2 separate regions of the Homo sapiens genome follow, and region 1 is linked to region 2. The links are contacts of gene promoters, found by promoter capture Hi-C in blood cells and fetal thymus (Javierre and others, 2016). All regions are on one chromosome and are shown on one strand. The core of a region is centred on a gene start or on the middle of the fragment in contact, and the rest is flanking DNA. Distances in the headings are between cores, read along the strand shown. Region 1 holds the start of MCM7 (minichromosome maintenance complex component 7). Region 2 overlaps PILRB (paired immunoglobin like type 2 receptor beta).

Region 1 (6,020 bases), core at 3,430-5,929, 270 kb after region 2:
GAAGCAGCAGGTGCCCTGGCCCTGTCTTCCGTCCCATAGAGCTGAACTCAGCCAGGCCAGCCTCACTCTTACCTCTTTGAGAGCAGGTCACATCGCAACTTTAGATAAACCTGGAGCCTGGATGAGAGGGTAAAACACCACGACTCAGGCCATCTTCTACTGGCATCTCACCATTCCCCACCAGGGACCTCCATGTGGGGCTGTGTGGGTGTGGGCTGTACTCCCAAGAGGGAAAAGGGCTGAAGCCCAGCCCAACTCCATTAGCCAAAGCTTTTTCCTTTTTTTTTTTTTCAGAGAGATGGGGTCTCACTATGTTGCCCAGGCTGGTCTGGAACTCCTGGGCTCAAGTGATCCTCCCGCCTCAGCCTCCCAAAGTGCTAGGATTACAGGTGTGAGCCACCGGCCGCAACCCAAGCCTTTTTCCAATTTGCACTCCATCACCACTACCACCACCCCCACTCTGCAGTGAGTCTTGGGAACATACAGGTCTTGGCTTGGGTTCCAAGGTAGTTCTAGAACCCAGGAAATTGTCTCACCGGCCTGAGCCTCGGTCCCACTGCACAGAGGGGAAGAGCCGGAAGGGGAGCGGTGAGGGGAGGTCATCGGAGAGTTGGTACCGCATCACAGTCAGCTGAGAGACCAGAGAGCAACAAGGTTAGTTTGGTCTCACGACCCCACTGCCCCCTTCCCCATGGTGGACGGAATTTATGAGGCCACCCCAACCCTGACCTCGCCCTGAGGTGGTTGCAAGCGGAGGATTCGATGAGACTCAAATTCGTCCAGATTCACAGAGCTGTGAAACGAGACTTCATCGACCCGGATTCCTGGCCCATAACCTGGAAAGAGAGAGAGAGAGACTTCTCTCCTGACTCCTGTTTTGGGAGAGGAGCAAGGAGAGGGGAGGCTCTGTCTGACTTCTCTCCATGAACTCTGGCAATGACCTACTCCAAGGGGAGAAAGACCCACTTTCTCCTCACCTCTCAGCTCTGACTTCCCCACACAAAACTCTTCCGTCAAGCCAATGCGCATCTCTGTCGGAGGAGAGACCATCAGGAGAGCTCAGCAATGCCATGGTTTAAGACACCAAGGAACCCGCCCTAACCCCAACCCTTGGTCCTGCCTGCAGATGCCTCACCAGAGCCGCTAGGAAGGAAGCTCTTGAGCCGAATCTCTCCCTGCACATCCACCTTCAGCAGGGATCCCTGAGAGGCAGGGGCGTCAAGGTTAGAGTCTTTTTTTCTTTCTTTTTTTGAGACGGTCTCGCTCTGTCGCCCAGGCTGGCAGTGGCGTGATCTCGGCTCACTGCAACCTCCACCTCCCAGGTTCAAGACATTCTCCTGCCTCAGCCTCACAAGTAGCTAGGGTTACAGATGCCTGCCACCATAAGTAGCTAATTTTTGTATTTTTAGTAGAGATGGAGTTTCACTGTGTTGGCCAGGCTGGTCTCAAACTCCTGACCTTAAGTGATCCACCCACCTCGGCCTCTCAAAGTGCTGGGATTACAGGCATGAGCCACTGTGCCCAGCCTTTTTTACTTATTTATTTTTTTTAAGAGACAGGGTCTTGCTCTGTCATCCGGGCTAGCGTGCAGTGACTCGATCTTGGCTTACTGCAGCCTTAACCTCCTGGGCTCAAGTGATCCTCCTGGCTCAGCCTCCCAAGTAGCTGGGACAGCAGGTGTACACTACCATGTCTGGGTAATTTGTTTATTTGTATTTTTTGTAGAGACGGGGTCTGGCTATGTTGCCCAGGCTGGTTTCAAACTCCTGGCCCCAAGTAATTCTCCCACCTCGGCCTCCCAAAGCACTGGGATTACAAGCATGAGCCACTGTGCCCGGCCGTTGCTGGGAGTCTTAGCCACCCCACCATGTTTCCCAAGTCCCATCTGTCCTCAGCTCCAGGTTTGGGAGCTCAAACTTACATTAGATGCTATCAGTACAGACAATCTCTCGACCACATCCAAAAAAACTTCATTCTTTTGGCTCTGAGAAAGAGAGAGAATTTGGGTGGTTGGAAGCAGAATAGCCTATGTTCTGAAATGGACAGACAGGGAGAAAGAACAGGACAGTCAAAGCTACAGCTCTAGGGTGAGGACATGGGTGATGGAAGGGATCATCTCCCACCTCCACCCACATCTGGGGGGGTGGGAGATGTGCCAAGATCTTTTTCTTTTTTTTTTTTTTTTTTTGCATTTTTAGTAGAGACAGGTTTTCACCATGTTGGCCAGGCTGCTCTGAAACTCCTGGCATCAGGTGATCTGCCCACCTCGGCCTCCCAAAGTGCTGGGACTACAGGCGTGAGCCGCTGTGCCCGACCTAAGATCTTGGACTCCCGGATCCCAGAGCAAAACCAGAGCGTCTGACCCCATGGATCCTTCCCTCACCTGGTCAGAGCGACTGGACAGGACGGGGCGGCTGGCTGCACTGCTGGGGGCCACTTTGCTCTGTTGTGTCTCAGCCCCAAACTGTAAAGCATCCAAAGCAATCAATCATCAGGTCTGACAACCCCAGCCAACCCCTCTTCTCTTTCCTCACCCTCCTCTTTCCCTCTACTGACCAAGCCAACGCTGCTGAGGTCAAAGAGGCTGAAGGGCTTGCTGACCACAGCTTCCGTCTGGATGAAATTCCTCAGCATCTCCGTGGATGTGGTCTGTACATAGCCATAGTCCTAGTGGTAAAGGAAGGACAGTCTGAGTGATCAGTGGAGGGAAGGGGTAAAGAGGGGGAGTGGGGCCAGGCATGGTGACTCACTCCTGTACTCTCAGCGCTTTGGAAGGCCGAGACGTAGGAGAATGGCTTGAGGCCATGAGTTCAAGACCAGCCTGGGCAACACAGTGAGACTCTAGTCTCTACAAAAAATAAACAATTAGCTAGGCACAGGGGAGGCTGGGGCAGGAGGACGGCTTGAGCCCAGGAGTTCCAGGCTGCAGTGAGCTATAACTGCACCACTGCAGTCCAGCCTGGGCAACAGAGCAAGACCCTGTCTCTAAAAGCAAAAAAAAAAAAAAAAAAAAAGGTAGACTTGGCCTCCTAACCACGGCATCCCACAGTAGAAGAGCAGATGTATCTTCAGGGGAATTGGGTAGGGGCCACAGAAGGGGATTGTTGATTCTCACCAGCACTTCATCCAGGAGTTCGTATACCAGAGCCACATTGCGGGAGATGGTCCCCTCGCCCAGGGAGCCACAGTAATCGCCCAGAAGGGTGGCCAACCTGAGGAAACACTTGGAGCGTGTATTTTCTCCTCCTCTCAGACCCCTCCTAGCTACCAGGTGCCCAGCCCAACCCTCCTCACCTGGAGAGCAGTTCTAGGAGGCTGAAGGGAGAAACGTTTTCTGAAGTTGTGACCACCAAATAGAGGCCGCTGTGTCTGATGTGAATGAAATGACGGCCATGGTGATGCTGAGACACAGGCAGGGAGAAGAGAGGCGTTAAAAAAAGGGAGGTGGAGTGATCAGAACCCAGGAGACCTGAGCTCGGATCCCGATGCCTCTTACTAGTCACAACAGCAGTGCCTTTGGGAGATACATGACATATGCCTGGGCCCAGCTTCCCAATGTGGAAAGGGGGTTAATTACACTAACTACCCCGAGTTGCTGAGGATGGAGTCACGCAGGGAGCTGGGCCTGGTGTGTTGCTGGCGCCCATTGACTCTTTTTTTTTTTTTCCCCACCCCCACCTACCCCGAGAGGGAGTCTCGCTCTGTCTCCCAGGCTGGAGTGCGGTGTCCGGATCTCGGCTCACTGCAACCTCTGCCTCTTGGATTCAAGCGATTCTCAAGCCTCAGCTTCCCGAGTAGATGGGATTACAGGCGCCCGCCACCACGCCCAGCTATGTTTTTTTTTTTTTTGTATTTTTAGTAGAGGCGGAGTTTCACCATGTTGGCCAGGCTGATTTCGAACTCCTGACCTCAGGTGATCCGCCCGCCTCGGTCTCCCAAAGTGCTGGGATTACAGGCGTGAGCCACCGCGCCGGGCCTCACGTTAGCTTTATTTGGCGGAATGCACCCCCCAAGTGGAATCTACCAATGAACCAGTCCTGGGAGGGAGCTGGCGCCCACCCGGCCCGACGGGACCCCGCTCCTCACCCGCCTCCCGCCACTGGTTACCATGACAACCGGGGACTCGTCTCCTGGCAGTCCCGTCAGCTTCCGGTAGAAGAGCTCGGCCACATCCCGGCCGCCACTGTCCCCGCGGACTGGCGGGTGGAAGGACTCAGTGAAGGATCCTGCGACACAGGCTGGCCCTGGGCGCCCCTCCCGCCCGGCCCCTCCGCCCCTTCCCAGCCCCAAGGGTCTAGGATACAGTCTTTGTAGATGAGCGGGTCCCCCTTGGAGGACAGAATGAAGAATTGGGAAATCATGGCCGTTCTGGAGAGTAGACAAGAAGACGGCGAAAGTCGGGCCTGCCCCGCCCTGCGGCCCCGGAACAAAAGAACGCGTGTGCGCTGGCCCTTTAAGAGCGATTCTCCTCCGCCCGCGCCAGCTCGGACCGCGGGAAACCCGGCGCCTGCACTACCCCGCCCGGAGATTCCCTTCCGACGCCCGCACCGCCTCCCCGTCACTCATTCTAGGCCCGCACGGTGATTGGCTTGCGGCTAGCGGGAGGTGAAGAAGGCCGCCTTGTCCGATTGGCCCGCACGCAGTGGCGCCGGTCACGTGGGGGGCGACGTTTCGCGCCAATTTCGGTTGGCCGGCCACAGTCCACCGCGCGGAGATTCTCAGCTTCCCCAGGAGCAAGACCTCTGAGCCCGCCAAGCGCGGCCGCACGGCCCTCGGCAGCGATGGCACTGAAGGACTACGCGCTAGAGAAGGGTACGGGTCTACGAGCCCGGGAGGGCGTCCTGCGCGGGGAGCCTCCCGGGGAACACCTGTTGGTGTGAGCTGGGGTCTTGGGGGACCGGGGTCGGCGGGTTCTGGGGTGCGCGAGGCCAGAGGCAGGGTCGAGCTGCGGCCTGGCTAAGGCCCACGGGGCCTGGGAAGCGTGCGGGGGGCCATCGATGTTGAAGAAAAGCTAGTAATCCCACCTGGTAAAGGTGTTAGGGTCGTGGGGTTGGGGGCTTGGGGGCGCGCTAACCCGGCTGGGGGCTGCACAGGGAAAAGTCGCGCCCAGGACCTCAGGAGAGTCTTAAGGGCTCTGGGCTCCCGTGCCCGCTTTCCTTCGCGCTTTTGGGCATTCCCAGGTTCCCGCGCCCTCCCCAGGCGCGCGTAGGCCCCGGGGGCGGGCAGGCCGGGGCCGCTGCGCGCCGGGATTGGCCGTTTGAGGCCGCCCTCCGAGCGGAAGTGGAGCCGGGCGGAAGTGGCGCGAGGAGGCTGGAGGGAGTGTCGTGTAAACAGTGTCCTTCCGCGCGGCGGCCGCGGAGAGAGCTGCGGCCCGGGGGGGCGTGCCTGGGATCCGGAGCTTCGCTCGGGCCCGGGAAAGGCGGCAGTGGGCTGGGATCGCGGTGTCTCTGGGTGTGATGGCCAATGGCTGGACTGGCTCCCGCCCTGGGCGGAGGAATCCCGAGCTGTGAAGCGGCTGGAATCCGGGCCCATGTGCTTCTTTGTTTACTAAGAGCGGAAGCGATGGCGGGAGCGGGGGTGGGGTGCGGTGGCGGGGTGCGGTGGCGGAGGTCCCGGTGAAATCAGGGGCTAAGGGGACCCAAAGAAGGCGGGGGATCATAGGGGTGGAAAGAAAGCTGAGAACCTTGAGACCGGAGTGTGAGGGGCCAACGGGGAAGGGCGCTAGAATTTTAAACTAAAGTAGGGACCGGAATTCCCCTGGGGAGATGTTGGATGGCCCTGTGCACTGCCACGGGCTCTTTATTCTTCGCTGGTTAGAAACAGACTTGTGAAAAAGAGTTATGCCCACTTTGGGGAGACTTCGGTAGGTTTATTTAAATGCTCATATTATTAATTAGTTCATAGGTCGTGTTTTAAGCGAAAATGGGTATCTAAGATTTGTCTTAAAGTTTGTGTCTTACGGTTTTACATTTCATGTTACAGAAAAGGTTAAGAAGTTCTTACAAGAGTTCTACCAGGAT
Region 2 (5,869 bases), core at 1,753-4,252:
CGACCCAGCTGGCCTCTTCCTGCCCCAGGCCCTCTCTCGGTGCAGGCACCACGACCTTGCTCAAGGGGTGAGGGGGCTAATGGTCCCCTACACAGAGACTGGTCCTTCTGGAAGCCACCCCTTGACCCCCAAGACATGAGACTGGGTCTGCAGGCTCCCCTCTGACGTCCCGCCCTACACAGGAGGGGACAGGGCTCTGAGAAGCCCTGCCCCAGGCCACGTGACTTGCAGTAGTGGGTACAGGACTGGAGCCCCCTCAACCCAGATGTCTGGGCCTGGCTGAAGGGTGGAATCTCTGGGCCTCAACTTCTGAGTGCAGGACAGGAGGCTGTCCCTTCATACAGCCCCTCAGGTCATTCCCTCCACACACCTGAGCCCTTGGCTGATCCAGAAGCTTCCTTGGACACAGAAGAAAGTGAAGGCTCAGAGCAACACCCACCCCACACACAGTCCTGGGCCCATCTCTAACGGGGATCTGCCGGCCTTTGCCCGGGGGTGGTCACTGGAGCAGGGAGCTTTGGTGGTGCACAGGGCTCCCTCCGTAGGAGGCTCTGCCCACCCTCTCCAGGGTGAGGTGGCATCAGTTGAGGGGCCGTGGGGGAAGACAGGATTTCATCAGAGGAAGTGACATCAGCCTTCTTGAGACAGAAGCAGGCAGGGACGGGCCTCCCTTCTCTTAGTCTCTTCCCTGGTCCTAGTAGGCTCCTCTGTGCTTCCCAGGGCCAGCCAGGCCGGCCCGCCCTCCCTCCCTTTACAGGCCTGAGGAAACAGGTTCCCCATGCTCAGGAAACCCCTCCGTCTGAGCCAGGCCCTAAACACCTCATTCTCTGCTTCACAACATTCTGAGGTGACACATTATCTCCATTCAACCCACAGGGAAACTGAGGGACGGGGGCTTTGGGCTGAACTGGTCACAGCTGGAAAGATGGGCTGCAGAGAGGACAAGGGACCCCCTGGCTGTCTGGGCAGGGCCTCGAGAGGGTGGCCCGCCCCACCTGAGGACCTGGCTGAAAGGTCACCTGCTTACCAGGCTGTCCAATGTGGGGGCCACATAGAACTTATAGCCAACAGCCTCTGGGTAGCTCTGGAGGGCACATGCTGCCCAATGCTGCCACGTGCAGTCTCCTTAGATGCAACATGCATGTTTATGTCACTTTCAGGCCCTGGATCCAGCTGAACCCCCATGGGAGATTCCTTCTGTGTCAGGATTTCTGCTCTGGGATGGTGTGAGGTCTCCTGGATTTGTTCATCCTCCCTCCCCCAACAGCAGTGACAGAACCTGGGACTGAGCCTGGGGCTGTGGCTCTCTCACAGACAGGGCTTCTGAGAGGAGGAGGAGGGCCTGGAGGAGGGCATGATTCCAATGTGGGCAGAGCCTAAATGCAGCCCCTTAGTGCAGGTGCTCATGGGAGAGGCGTGGGAAGTCGTGTGTGGGGAGCAGGGGCAGGGAGGGGGTAAGTACCCTGCACCGCATTATGAGAACCACTGCTTGGATGTCCCCACATTCCCCCAACAAGTATCCTACTGTCCTCACTGGCCACATCCGTCCCTGCCCCCAGCCCCTCACCTCTCCTTGGCACCCACCGTTCCTGCTTTCCTCTGATCCCAATCGACATCCCATAGGCTTTGTGGAGTTCACAAGCCAACTGTAATATTCTCACAGTAATTCAAAGGACCTAGAATAGCCAAAAGGCCTTTACAAATGAAGAATGAAGGTGGAAGATTTATAATACCTGACTTCAAGACTTGCTGTAAAGCTTCTGTAATCAGGCTGTACTGTCCTCAAGGTACTAGAGTGTCCACAGACTGGAGTGTAGGGACGCGATCACCATCACTCCTGGGCTGAAGCAATTTGCTGACCTCAGCCTCCCAAGTAGTGAAGACCACAGGCACACACCACCACACACGGCTAATTTTTTTTTTTTTTTGAGAGATGGGGTCTCACTATGTTGTCTAGGCTGGTCTCAAGTTCCTGGGCTTAAGCAATCCTCCTGCCTCGGCCTCCCTCAGTGCTGGGATGACAGGTGTGAGCCACCTCACCAAGCCCCACTGGATTGCTGATATTCTGGCATCTTGGACCTCCAAGAGCAGAGAGAGGGACTGCCCCTGCCAGAGCCAGCCAGTTGTTAGAGCTAGCAAATGACCCCTCTGAGAGTGTCCCTTTTTTTTTCTGAAACAGTCTCACTCTGCTGCCAGGCTGGAGTGCAGTGGCACGGTCTCGGCTCACTGCAACCTCCACCCCTGGGTTCAAGCGATTCTCCTGCCTCAGCCTCCCAAGTTGCTGGGATTACAAGTGCGTGCCACCATGCCCAACTAATTTTTGTATTTTTAATAGAGACGGGGTTTCACCACGTTGGCCAAGATGGTCTCCATCTCCTGACCTTGTGATCTGCCCACCTCGGCCTCCCAAAGTGCTGGGATTACAGGCTTGAGCCACGGCTCCTGGCTGAGTGTGCCTTTCATATGCAAACCAGCTAATCCAGGGCCCCAACACTGAACCAGCTCTTCTAGCTGCCTCTCACCCTTCAGAAGGCAGTATTTCTCTGCCTTCATCATCCTGGGCCAGACACCAAATAACAAATGACAGCCTCTAATCCCCAGAGCCTGCTAACGTTATTCTAACTAGCCAATCCTAAACCTGCATACCCTTCCTTGCCTTTTCCAGGGAAAGCATAACAAAGGGTCTCACCCCTGTGTTCCCTTGGCTTCCTCTACTCCCTGAGGGACCCTGGTGCTTTCCCAAGTGGCCCTGCATGGCTGTGTCTCTCGTTTCTGGGGATCTGTGAGGATACACTGCTTCCCTTATGACCCTCATTTCCATGGCCATACCTGATGGAAAGAAATGGCAGGTGCATTTTGTTTTATTATTATTATTATTTTGAGACGGAGTCTCACTCTGTCGCCCAGGCTGCAGTGCAGTGGCACCATCTCGGCTCACTGCAACCTCTGCCTCCCAGGTTCAAGCGATTCTCCTGCCTCAGCCTCCCGAGTAACTGGGACTACAGGTGCCCACCACTATGCTCACCTAATTTTTGTAGTTTTAGCAGAGATGGGGTTTCACCATGTTGGCCAGGCTGGTCTTGAACTCCTTACCTCAGGTGATCCACCTGCCTAGGCCTCCCAAAGTTGCTGAGATTACAGGCATGAACCACCGCGCCCTGCCAGCAGGTGCATTTGATTTATTTTTATTTTTTGAGACGGAGTCTCGCTCTGTCACCCAGGCTGGAGTGCAATGGTACAATCTCGGCTCACTGCAACTTCCACTTCCTGAGTTCAAGTGATTCTCCTGCCTCAGCCTCCTGAGTAGCTGGGATTACAGGCACGTGCCACCATGCCCGCCCGGCTACTTTTTGTATTTTTAGTAGAGATGGAGCTTTGCTATGTTGTTCAGGCTGGTCTCGACCTCCTGACCTTGTGATCTGCCTGCCTCAGCCTCCCAAAGTGCTGGGATTACAGGTGTGAGACACTGTGCCTGGCCCAGCAGGCGCATTTTAAAAGAGCTTTTAACTCTCTGGACAATCCCAGGAGGTAGGCAGCATCTCTGTATGGTCCTCAATTTATACAGAAAGAAACGGAGGCCCTGAGGGTGGTTCTGAGCCTAGCCTGAGGTCACATGGCCCAGGAACGTCCACTGTGGCATCAGGTCTGAGCTTGGGGCCTGTGCGGCCAACCACTTCCCCATTCAGTGACATCAGCCAGCAGTCCTCTGGGCCTCTGTGACAACCATGCTTCCCTTTTCTGTGTTGTCTTCCTTCTGCACAGGGAGGTGCTTGAGGGCTGGGGCACTGGCTGGTGTAGCTTTGGGTCCTTGTCACCCAGTGCAGTGTGCCTGTCACCCAGGGCAGTTAGTGCTGACCAAATGCGTATGGAGAGGGTGGAGGCATCTTCAAGGGGTGGGGATCAGGTGACGATCATTTTCAGTAGAGATGGGGTTTCACCGTATTGGCCAGGTTTTTTGTTTTGTCTTTTTTTTTTGAGACAGGCTCTCTCTCTGTCACCCAGGCTGGAGTACAGTGGTGCAATCACAACTCACTGCAGCCTCAGTTGCCACCTGAGGGCTCAATTGATTCTCCCACCTCAGCCTCAAAATGTGCTGGGATTACAGTCATGAGCCACTGTGCCTGGCCCAATCATGCCTTTATAATGAAGCCCATAAAAACCCAAAAGGGATGCAGAGGGCTTCTGGATAACTGAACTCATGGAGCTTCCTAGAGGGTGCAGTGCCTAGAGAAGACACGGAAGCTTTGCACCCCTTCCCCCAGGCCTCCCTCTGTGTATCTCTTATATCTGGCTGTTCATAACTATCCTTTGTAATATCCTATATCTTTATTTTGAGACGGGGTCTCGCTATGTTGCCCAGGTTGGTCTCAAACTCCTGTGCTCAAGTGAACCTCCCCCCTCAACCTCCTGAAGCACAGAGATTACAGGCATGAGCCATGGCGCCAGGCCCTATAATATCCTTTATAAGGGGACACATGTAAGTAAAGGGCTTCCCTGAGTTCTAGGTACCATTCTAGAAAATTAATTGAACCCAAGGAGGGGATCATGGGAACCTCAATTTTTATAGCCCTGTGTCAGAAGCACAGGCACCACGTGAGCTTGCGACTGGCATCTGATGCTGGGGCAGCCTTGTGGAACTGAGCCCTCAACCCGTGCGATCACAGGAAGCAGCCAATTTGCTGTAGTAGCCGTGGCCAACACACTGTCTCTGACAGTGTTCTTGCCCCTGCCCACTCCTTCTTAACGATTCCCTCTCAGCCAGGCATGGTGGCTCACGCCTGTAATTGCAGCTATTTGGGAGACTGAGGCTGGAGGATTGCTTGAGCCCAGGAGTTTGAGACCAGCCTGGACAACTTGGTGAAACTCCAGTACCACTAAAAAATACAAACATTAGCTGAGTGTGGGGGTGCACGCCTGTAATCCCAACTACTTGGGAGGCTGAGGCATGAGAATGGCTTGAACCCAGGAGGCAGAGGTTGCAGTGAGCAGAGATTGCGCCACTGCACTCCAGCCTGGGTGATGAGAGTGAGGCTCTGTCTCAAAAAAAAAAAAAAAAAAAAAAAAAGATTTCCCTTCTTAAACTTGCTTCCAACTGCTTTAAATCTGTGAGTGCCATCTGTTTCTAGTGGGGAGGCTCCCTGCATCATGACTGGACTCAGGTACTGCAGAGCAGGAAGGGGCACTTGGCAGCCATGTGGGAGATGCACAGGGAAGTGTCAGCAGCATTTCACGCTATTTATTCCCCAAAACCTTCTGCCATAGAAGACAGCCACCATACAGATTGGAAAATGTGGACGAGGAGAAAAGGGGTGTATGGTAAGCAAAATAAATTGTATTTTTCCATCCTTGGGGAGGATAAAGGAACTCTTTGCACTGCTATAATAAACAGCCCCCAAATGCCAGTGGTTTAATTCAGTGGAGTTCAGACCTCATTCCTATATCATTGCAGTGTGGATGCTCCTGGATGAAGGCTCTTGTAGGTAACTCTCCTCCAGTCGGTGATTCAGGGACCCAGCCTCCTTCTGCCTTGCGGCTTTGCCTTTTAAAGGTCCTCAGGGTGCTCTCCATGTATCTTGCCAATGGGGAACGAGTGTGGAGGACTCACAAGCGGGTCTCACATCACGTCCTCCGGGGCTAATACACATCCCTTCTCCCCACACTCTGTTGGTCAGAAGTCACTGCTTGGCGCCCTGCTACCTGCAGGAGGGGAAGTGTTTTTAGATGCAGGGCCAGGATTATTAGTGAGGCAGGCGAGGCAGTTGCTTCAGAGATCAGATTTAAGTGGGAGGTGGCAAAAACTCAGGAGAATTTGTGGCAGGCTGGGCTTGTGGGGTTCTTAGCAGCACAGTCCCTGATTTCCAAACCCGTC

The links. Contacts are between HindIII fragments. The CHiCAGO score rates a contact against its expected background, and 5 or more counts as called.
Region 1: the fragment with the promoter of MCM7 here is called in contact with a fragment that was not itself captured in region 2 in 1 of 17 cell types (total B cells); the score reaches 6.4 in total B cells.

The regions. Positions count from the first base shown.
Region 1 is chr7:100,100,056-100,106,075 of GRCh38, reverse strand. It overlaps MCM7 (minichromosome maintenance complex component 7), which reads left to right and starts at 4,679. Exons shown (of 15, transcript NM_005916.5): 1 at 4,679-4,812; 2 at 5,983-6,020. The coding sequence starts at 4,782. AP4M1 (adaptor related protein complex 4 subunit mu 1) reads right to left here and starts at 4,433. Exons shown (of 15, transcript NM_004722.4): 1 at 4,304-4,433; 2 at 4,108-4,196; 3 at 3,295-3,401; 4 at 3,116-3,212; 5 at 2,557-2,667; 6 at 2,384-2,464; 7 at 1,922-1,984; 8 at 1,136-1,202; 9 at 978-1,031; 10 at 730-836; 11 at 537-631; 12 at 73-117. The coding sequence starts at 4,361. RefSeq lists enhancers at 4,355-4,404, 4,427-4,979, 5,325-5,484 and a silencer at 5,115-5,214. The HindIII fragment of the contact is 6,263 bases long and covers 273-6,020 here.
Region 2 is chr7:100,367,177-100,373,045 of GRCh38, reverse strand. PILRB (paired immunoglobin like type 2 receptor beta) reads right to left here. Exons shown (of 4, transcript NM_178238.4): 4 at 5,215-5,697. The coding sequence ends at 5,669. STAG3L5P-PVRIG2P-PILRB (STAG3L5P-PVRIG2P-PILRB readthrough) reads right to left here. Exons shown (of 17, transcript NR_036570.1): 17 at 5,215-5,697. It also overlaps a transcript of PILRA not described here. Among named protein-coding and RNA genes, the nearest start is that of PILRA, 3.4 kb to the left of the region's middle. RefSeq lists an enhancer at 1,891-2,642. The HindIII fragment of the contact is 2,485 bases long and covers 1,760-4,244 here.